Regions from separate parts of the Homo sapiens genome. Here all the other regions are linked to region 2. The links are contacts of gene promoters, found by promoter capture Hi-C in blood cells and fetal thymus (Javierre and others, 2016). All regions are on one chromosome and are shown on one strand. Each heading gives the region's core, a stretch centred on a gene start or on the middle of the fragment in contact. The rest is flanking DNA. Distances are from core to core; before and after follow the strand shown. Region 1 has its middle 55 kb from the start of MIR2110. Region 2 holds the start of DCLRE1A (DNA cross-link repair 1A). Region 3 overlaps CCDC186 (coiled-coil domain containing 186).

Region 1 (3,100 bases), core at 581-3,080, 270 kb after region 2:
GGACAATGTTACAGCAATTAATCAAAAAGAAAAACCACAGGCCCTTCCCTTCCCCACAATTCAATTTAAGGAGTCTTCATTTTCCACAGTAAATTTTCTAGATATGTCTTGAAGACCTCAAAGTACTGGAAAAGAAGCTCCCATTCAAAGGAAATTTATCTTAAGATACTAAATGATACTAATTTTTTGTCCATTTGAAATATGTAAATTGTGCTATAATAAGTTATCCTGTCAAGTGTAACCACTGTCCACGTAGTTGAAATTCTGGGATCAAGAAAGTATATTTAAATTGACTCCCATCATAACTGGTGGGGCACATCTAACTGTGAAAAGACACATCACACAATCACCTTTCTGTTGATTACATGGCCTGGGCTCTCTGCCTTCTCTCCTTGCCCCTCCCCCCAGCTCGTACCCTCCCTGCAACAGCCCTCTACTCTGGGGTGCTTGTTACCCTCTTGCCCTAAATCTTCCTTTCTCTTGCAAACAAATCCACAGTCTACTGAAAGCAGATTATTACATTGGAAAGGTTTCTTTACTAATTTTACACTTACTCTACAGATCTTGATTTCAGGGGATTCTTTCCAATAGTTAACTCATTAAGTTACACGGCATAATTTAAGTGTACCAGAACTGTTAGAGCAATGGAAACCAATGCCTTGTGATGTGAAATATTCCATCACGCATGCTAACTTGATTAAATGCCATTTTAGTATCTTCTTATTGAACATACGTAGATGTGAAGGCTTCAGGCGGCAGCCTGCTGGGTACATGGGGTGCTTTGCCTGCACCCCTGGTTTAAGTCTTAAATGATGCCCCTTCCAAGCCATCATCCTGTCCCCATGCTCTTCCACTCCTACCTTTGACTGAAGCACAGATCATAACCCCTCCACTTCCGAGACTGGCCTTCAATGAGGAATTTAGGGCTTTCTCCATATTTTCTCTTCCCCAGCTTTGAGGGGTGCTTTTTCTTCCCTCCTCCTCAAGTTCCTTTTGCACCATCACCACCCAACACTTTCCATGACACTTCCTTGCTTTGGCCAGAAGCCATTAGGTAAGGTTGGAAAGTTTTCCTGACCTCCCTTGTTTAGTTTTGGAACCTCACTATTCACTCTCCACCAGGCTGGAAAACAAATATTGGGTCCTCAGTCCTGCCACTCTCTGCGGTCATCATCAGCTGATGCGTTGTTTTTAGCTCAGGTTTTGATAAAGTGAATTGTCTCCAGGGTTACTCAGACCTGCCAGCTCTCAAAGTCCTTGGTGGTTAAACTTGGAGAAAGACCACATGAAGACACTCATAAGCACACATAATCCCTCTGTAATATTTTTTTCTGTAATTGATTTTGCTTTTAGAAATTGAAGTTTTAAACAGGGCTGTCATTTGGTCATCCTTCCAATTCATTGGGGTCTAGTTTAAAATATGACAATTGGAACAAAATCTTGAATCCAGTGCATATTCTGGTTTTGGCATTGCGGTTGCTTCTGAAGATCCTCAGCAGGGATTGAGACCTTGGTGTGCACAGCAGACCCCTGAAATTGGTGGGCTTGACCTTCTGGCAAATTGCTTCGTTTTTCCACTTTCTGTTCAGGACCGCTACATGCTGAAATGTGGATGCATACAGAAATAAATGCAGTTCATTAGGTACTAAAGTTTTGTTTTTTTTAATTTGGTATTTGTGTAAATTCACCTTTTGAAGCAATAACTATCAAGTCTAAAAAGCAATTGATGTTTCCATTAACGTTTTTCTGGGGAAAAGTTAGTTCTAAGGATTTAACATCCTGTAACTGAAGTTTAACATAACAGTATCCCATAAGCAGTCTTTTTTATTGTCAGACTACTGCCAAATTTTAATTTTAAAAAGTGTACTTTTTTAAAAAAGTGTAAGTTAGAAATTAATAACAGAGCATCTCTACGGGGCAGAAACATCAAGTCTGGTCACACTATTCTCAGACAGTCATTAAAACTCAGCATTAGTATCAGTTAATCACAGAGGAACGCTCCTGAGTTGCTGCTCCTGAAGGAGCAGGTACTCATTCTGCATTCATTAACTTAAGCTGATTTTATTAAGAAAAAACAGACTTGGATATAAGTTCATCAGAATGGCCTTCCCATCTCATGACTGCAGGTCATACTGACCACGTGAATGGTACTTTGACATAGTTAATTGAATATAAAGGAGCCACTAAAAGCCTCTGCTCATAATTATCACCTCAAGTCACTACTCTCCTGCTACGTGGACCTAAATCAAGAACCACGGCTAGTATCTTTCCTTGATTTACCCTCTTTCCCTATATCTTCCTTTCTCTTGCGAACAAATCCACAGGCTACTGAAAGCAGACTGTTAAGTATGTTGGAAAACTTTCTTTACTAATTTTACACTTACTCTGCAGATCTTGATTTCAGGAGATTCTTTCCAATAGAGAACTCATTAAGTTATATGGCATAATTTAAGTGTACCAGAACTGTTAGAGCAATGGAAACCAATGCCTTGTGATGTGAAATATTTCATCCCACACATATTCACTTAATTGAATTAATGCTTTCAGTGTCTTCTTATTGAAAATACTTAGTTCTTTATTACTGAAGCTAGACTACATGGCAAGTGAGTTCTATAATTTTATGGAAAATCTGAATACATCACTGGCTTATCAAATAAGAAATTTTCACATACCTATAGGCCACAGAACCTTTTGTAAAAGGCTGATATGGTCTGGCTCTGTGTCCCCACTCAAATCTCATCTTGAATTGCAATCCCCATAATCCCCATGTGTCGAGGGAGGGACATGGTGGGAGGTGACTGAATCATGGGGACAGTTTCCCCCATGCTGTTCTCGTGGTAGTAAGTTCTCACAAGATCTGATGGTTTTATAAGTGTCTGCAAGTTCTTCCTCCCTCTTCTCTCTCTCACCTGCCACCATGTAAGATATGCCTGTTTCCTCTTCCACCATGATTGTAAGTTTCCTGAGGCCTCCCCAGCAACGCAGAACTGTGAATCAATTAAACCTCTTTCCTTTATAATTACCCAGTCTGGGGCAGTTCTTTACAGCAGTGTGAAAACCAATTAATACACAGGCTAAGTTTTGCTGTCAATAATTTAAA
Region 2 (3,227 bases), core at 12-2,511:
TATCCATCATAAACTGGACGTATCTTTGGGGACACGTGTTGGCTTTTTTGAGTTCTACAGAGTTTTCCTGGAGTAGTTTCCTTGTCTTGGGTCTGCTGAATACCATCTCCACAACTTGAATTCTGACTAGAAGCAACAGAAGTCTGACAACCTGCATTTCCAAGGGGCACTTCATGGTCCTTCACCTCTTTAGCTTCTGCGGCTCTTTTTCTGTTTCTACTCCGTTTTGACTGGTATTTTCCATCTGTTGCTTTTTCAACAGATTTTAGAATATTTTTAGAGCCATTATTTGGATCAACTCGTTTTGGTTTTCTTTTAGATTTGTATTCCCAAATGTCTTCTTCGGAAATGTCTTCTAACATGGCAAAATGATTTTATCATTCAAGAAGTATTAATCTTAAGTAAACTGAAAGTCCATTTCTTGTCACAAACAAAAAGTTATAGAATTATTTTGCTGAGAAAAAAAACAAAGGTAACAAAACCCCCACCAACTCAATGGGAATCTGCAGTGTTGGTAATGAACATATTGGCAAGCTACAAACCTTGTACCTGACAACACCTGCTATTCCATTTATACCACAATGAAACTAAGATAAACCTATCACAGGAGTAGCAACTGTGAAGTTCTCCATTATGGGTGCTATTTCATTCAAATATCTTGTCCTTTTCCAGGGCTTGATTCATAAAAATAATACTTCAAAAATTAAGCGCTAATGGCAAATATAGGTTCAACAGCTTAATCTTAGAACGAGATTTGTAACATTGTTATGAAGCTACTGTCAGTTCTTTCAAGTGGACAACCGTCCAAATAATTCATAAATCCAACCACAGTCCCTGGACAAAGGGCTTAACAGGTATCCCAAACACTAAATGACTATCTAACAAAACTAGTCACAACATAATCAAAGAGATGTGTAATTCGCAAAAAACTGCGAAGTCACTGCCCTCATCCACGACTAGTGGATACTCAACCACTTCAGTTTCCCGCGACAGTCCATGATCTTCCTCCAGCAGCAATGAACAATCCCTGCACAGTGAACAAAAAAAGTTGATATGTGAAAAAAGTTCAAATATGTGAAAGAGTGGGCTTGTATTGAGGTCTGACTCCGTATTGCACCCATGGTTCCGAAGGTGGCCAGCCCTCTGTCCACCTGACTCAAAACGGGGTCACACGCCAGCCTCTCCCTTATCTTTTGGCATTAGAGGCTGGGAGGCCAGGAAGCGGGGCCTTAATCATCTCCAGGTTAAGCATAGCGAGCTCCAAAAAGCCCTCAGAGTCCTGCCCTTCTGAAGACTCTAAGGCCCGCCCTCAAGGACCCTCACCGCCCCCCACCTGCCACTCGGCACCCCAAGGGAGCCGCTCCAGCTGCATCCGCTCCTCCCGGCACCCCCATCTAAAAATGTGTTCGCGCCCGCACTTTCAGCACTCCCAGATGACAAAACGCTGTGTTTGTGTATAAGTGAAAGCCACTCGCGCCAGTCACTTCCAGTTTACAAAGCCTTCTCTCTGGAGGTTATCCCTACCCGCTTTACCTTTAGGGTCTTGGCGGGAACAAGTTCCCGCTGCCAGTGCCGTGTCGAATCGGCGGATGCTGTTCAAAGAGAGAGACTTTAAAAATAATTTTTAAAAATACATTGCCCTTTTAAGTCCTACGGATTTATTGTATTTTATTTGTGTTCGAAAGTCCGCTAATTCCCAATGTGGAGGGTTGGGGATGTTTCCCTTAGCGCCTCTGGGACGCTGTCCCTAAGGCCTTATTCCATGTTGAATCTGACGCTCTCAATGTCCAGGCTCGGCTGCGGCGTGGGGACCGAAAAGGGGCGGGGTGGGTCGGACGGCAGTTTAATTACGTCCCCGGGAACTGCGCCGATTTGGACTTTTGGCACTTGGACCTATGCTTTAAAAAGAAAAAAGTGTCATTGGCGTGGAGTGGGGCTAGTGGAGGGTGAGGTGAATGCGCCGTTTGGAAACCACAGGACAGTGAACGTTTCGTCTCTCCCAGCGAGACTCTCCCGCGGGCCCGGCGGCCGCATCGGGAGCCCGGCGGAAACATGGCGGCGCCCGGAGGCCGGGGCCGCAGCCTCTCCGGCCTGCTCCCCGCGCAGACCTCGCTAGAGTACGCCCTGCTCGACGCCGTTACCCAGCAGGAGAAGGACAGCCTGGTCTACCAGTATCTGCAGAAGGTGGACGGCTGGGAGCAGGACTTGTCAGTACCCGAGTTTCCGGAAGGTGAGGGGCTGGCGTCGGGGTGGGGGCCCCTCCCGGCACCTCCCCTTCCTCGGGGACGGCGCCCTCCCGCGAAGCGGTGGGCTAGGCGGGTTTGTGCCGCTGGCGCCCCGGGGAGTGGCCCTTCGCCTAACTTGGGCCGCTGTTCGCGTGTTCTGCAATTCCCAGGGGTCCCCAAGCGGCCACCGACGGGGGTTTCCCTGGCACGGGGATCCACATACTCGTCTGTGTATCCTGAGTTCCGCCCGCGCCTGATATTAGCCAAGTGGACACTCCGTGAATATTTAGTGTCCCCGGTGGCAATGATTGCAACGTCCACACCATTCTGTCCATTCAATCTGGTTCCCCAGTGTCTTCTGGTCATCTTTCTGCATCATCTTGACATTTATTGATCACTTTTTCATGTATCACACACAGGGTTTTTTTTTGTTTTTTTTTGATACGGAGTCTCGCTCTGTCTCCCAGGCTGGAGTACAGTGGCGTGATCTTGGCTCACTGCAACCTCCGCCTCCCAGGTTCAGGCGATTCACCTGCCTCAGCCTCCGGAGTAGCTGGGACTACAGGCCCGCGCCACCACGCCTGGCTAGTTGTTTTGTTTTGTTTTGTTTTGTTTTGTTTTGTTTGTATTTTTAGTAGAGACGGCGTTTCACTATGTTGGCCAGGCTGGTCTCGACCTCCTGATTTCAAGTGATCCTCCCGCCTCCGTTTCCCAAAGTGCTGGGATTACAGGCGTGAGCCACCGCGCCCGGCCTGCCACACACAGTCCTAAACACTTGAGGGGATACCTAAACACTTGAGGAGATATTACCTTATTCAATTACCTCTATATCCCAGTGAGGTGCTCCTATCATTCCCCTTTCACAGTTGAGGAAATGGAAGCACAGAGAGGTTAAGTCACATGCCCAGGGCCTCACAGCTGATAACTGCCCCAGTTGGATTATACAGGCCCTGGATTTGCTGGTTTCTTAGCTGTACTGTGCTTCTCCGTTCAAAGTCGTGA
Region 3 (2,997 bases), core at 213-2,712, 290 kb after region 2:
ATACATATTTTACCAAAATATAATCTTCCCTTGAGATGCAAATTTCTCCAACATACAGATTTTAAAAGAAAGTTTTTAGAAAGCTCAAGAAAAAGTTATCTAATAAACAACATGTGCCAACACTTATTTTTTCCCTAGCAAACCTTTTCTCTGCAGACAAGTAATAGAACACTTGAATTACTAAAAAATTCATGGTTTTAGAAGGTAAACTAATAAAAACAACTTTACGTTTGAGTGTTAACCATGTTAAATTATGATTATTTGATTAAATATGGAAAAGCAAAGAGAACAAATTTCAAATAAGGTCAACATATTTCAAATGGCACAAGTTATACCTTAGTTTCATACAGCTGGTGCAACCGTCCTTTCTCCTGAGAAAGCTGCTTAATTTTGTTAGTGTTTTTCTCAAGTTCCTTATTTGCATCTCTAAGTTTTTTCTCAAGTGTCTCTTTTTCCTTTCGAAGATCTAAAGATTCCTTCTCACCTCTTACATATTTCATTACCATTGCTTCTTTTTCTTGGCGTGCCTCTTCACATTTCTTGTTGGCCTTCAAAAAAAATATTACTTAGCATTAATGAAAAATAATGTTTCAAATGGAAATGTATTGAAATACATGGTATTTGTCTCTTATATTACCAATGCATTGTTTGGTTTTTGCACAACATTCCCAGGACTTGTGCCATGAAATTTTAAAATGAAAGAAAAAATTTAAAATTATAGAAAAATGGTACAATATCCCTAGCATTTGCCTTTACCCTTTCCTGTTCCTTTTACTTCGGCTAATATGGTTGCTATTTTCCACGTACTCCTCCAGATCCCCTTTCCCACTTTTTTTAAATCCCAACTGGTGTCCCAGGAACATGATGACATCATGAACCCTATCAATAAGCTCTCTTGCCCTCAAACTTCCAGTTGGGTTCACCCAACAGAAGGCAGTAGGCAGAAGCTTGGGAACGTAGGCAGAGTGAGATCTGGCTCCTCCAGAGTTCCCACAGGTTGGCTGATGGCCACTCCCCTTGTCAGGTGCCCTCTCTATACAACTACCCTCTGGGGTGTAATACCTGCTCCTTGTCCAGCAGCCCTGAAATTCTGCATCTTCCCTTTTTGGGATCCCTACATCTTGTCCACACCTTGACAAAGAATCTTTTTATTAAATTATCTTCATCACCGGTTTAAGTGTGCCATCTGTTTTCTGCCAGGACCCTGACTGTATAGCCGACAATTTCTAAAATCTTAACTCCCTTTCGAAAATTAAGTAGCCATATGCTAACAAATGACCATTTAATTTCCTATTTATGTAAAGCTTTCTGAAGCATTTTACACTTAATAAGAAATACCTAACTGGATTAAGTATGAAAACTATATACTCATTTAAAAATTTTCTATTAGTATGAACTGGTACTCCATATTCTGAAATTTCACAGAATGAAAACTTCTACAAATAGTCCTTCTTTGAAGTAACTCATGGTTTGCAAATATGGTGAAGCACACATTTAATTTACAAAAGATAGAACTTCAAACTTTAGGAATTTTCAATATCTTTTAGTGGTAAATAAACACTGATGATGCAACTGAATTGAAGAAGGTAACTATTAAAATAAAGTGAGCAGAATGTAGGGAAAGCTTCTATGCTTTGATGAAAAATGGCTGCAAAAATGTTTCATAAAATTCTGGCACTGCTGATAAGCACATCTAGTCAACACTGAGAATGCTATACATACACATATAAGTAATTTTAAAAATCTCCCAATTGGGATTTGTTTCCATTGAAATAGTCATACTAATTTTCAAATTAAGAAAGACATTGCATTAGGGATATGATAGGCCCCGAGGTTGTAACAATGTGCTTGTAGACAAAGACTGAGAAAGTTATGCTGGACTTGGCCAACAGAATTAGATTTTTAGACAACTGAATATCTGTACTTAGAAAAAGTCAATAGCTCAATGTCAACTTTAAGAGAAGTCTGGTTTCATAATAATTTAATATTCAGATAATGTATCATCTATTGGAAACAAAGTAGCAGTTGTGGCCTCTGAAAGAGCTCACCATCTAGTGAGAAAGGCATATAAACAAACATTATAATATGAAAAATTATAGTAAATGAATGTACAAAGTCCTTCAAAACATGAAAATACTTACATCCCCTGGGAGGAGTTGGCAGGAAGGGTAAAAGATGCTATACTTGAGCTAGGTATTAAAGGCTAAGCAGAATTCTATAGAATGTAAGGGGTGAATCAAGGAAAGGAATTAAAAATAGAGTGAATATCATGTGCAAACACCTAAAAGTATAAAACAGCATGACACATTTAGGAGATATCAAGTTATTTTATTGGGCTTAAATTTGGTGTGTTGGCTGGAGTGGGAAGAAAGTAGTTATAAAAACAAAAAGAGGTATAGATTAGATCCTCAAAGGAAGAAGAATTTCTGTCATGGTAATAAGTTGAGGTTTTATTCCATAGTCAACATAAAGCCAAAGAAGAATTTATAAATCAGAAGCTCTTATTAAAATGTGTGTTTTAGTAAGATAACTGGTAGCAGCATGGGAGCTTCACTGAAGTTGAGAGATAGGGGGTAGAAAATAATCAAAAAAAGACAGTTGTAATAGACAAGGTGAAATATTATGAGGGTCTTGGCTGGATGCAAGGAGTCATGCCTGTAATCCCAGCACTTTGGGAGACTGAGGTGAGCAGATCGCCTGAGCCCAGGAGTTTGAGACCAGCCTGGACAACATGGCAAAATCCCCTATCTACAAAAAAAACAAAAAACAAAATTAGCTGGGCATGGTGGTGTGCACCTGTAGTCCCAGCTATTTGGGAGGGCTAAGGTGGGAGGTCTCTTGAGCCCAGGAGGTTGAGGCTGCAGTTAGCCATGATTGCACCATTGCACTCCAGCCTGGGCAACAGACCCTGTCTCAAAAAAAATAAACGGAAAATATTATGAGAGTCTTCACTATAGCAGGGAATGGCGCACCAGATAACGGCTCTGTTACTCATGG

Evidence for each region. The method cuts DNA at HindIII sites, captures the fragments that hold promoters and counts their contacts. A CHiCAGO score of 5 or more calls a contact.
Region 1: a contact is called between a fragment that was not itself captured here and the fragment with the promoter of DCLRE1A in region 2, in 1 of 17 cell types (monocytes). The highest score is 7.8, in monocytes.
Region 3: a fragment that was not itself captured here is called in contact with the fragment with the promoter of DCLRE1A in region 2 in 1 of 17 cell types (naive B cells); the score reaches 5.5 in naive B cells.

What each region holds. Positions count from the first base shown.
Region 1 is chr10:114,117,536-114,120,635 of GRCh38, forward strand. It overlaps the pseudogene UBE2V1P5. Among named protein-coding and RNA genes, the nearest start is that of MIR2110, 55 kb to the right of the region's middle. The HindIII fragment of the contact is 5,049 bases long and covers 1-3,100 here.
Region 2 is chr10:113,852,821-113,856,047 of GRCh38, forward strand. It overlaps DCLRE1A (DNA cross-link repair 1A), which reads right to left and starts at 1,262. Exons shown (of 9, transcript NM_014881.5): 1 at 1-1,262. The coding sequence starts at 362. NHLRC2 (NHL repeat containing 2) reads left to right here and starts at 1,841. Exons shown (of 11, transcript NM_198514.4): 1 at 1,841-2,230. The coding sequence starts at 2,053. RefSeq lists a silencer at 1,951-2,310 and an enhancer at 2,321-3,025. The HindIII fragment of the contact is 6,407 bases long and covers 1-3,227 here.
Region 3 is chr10:114,145,214-114,148,210 of GRCh38, forward strand. CCDC186 (coiled-coil domain containing 186) reads right to left here. Exons shown (of 16, transcript NM_018017.4): 5 at 336-548. Among named protein-coding and RNA genes, the nearest start is that of MIR2110, 27 kb to the right of the region's middle. The HindIII fragment of the contact is 320 bases long and covers 1,303-1,622 here.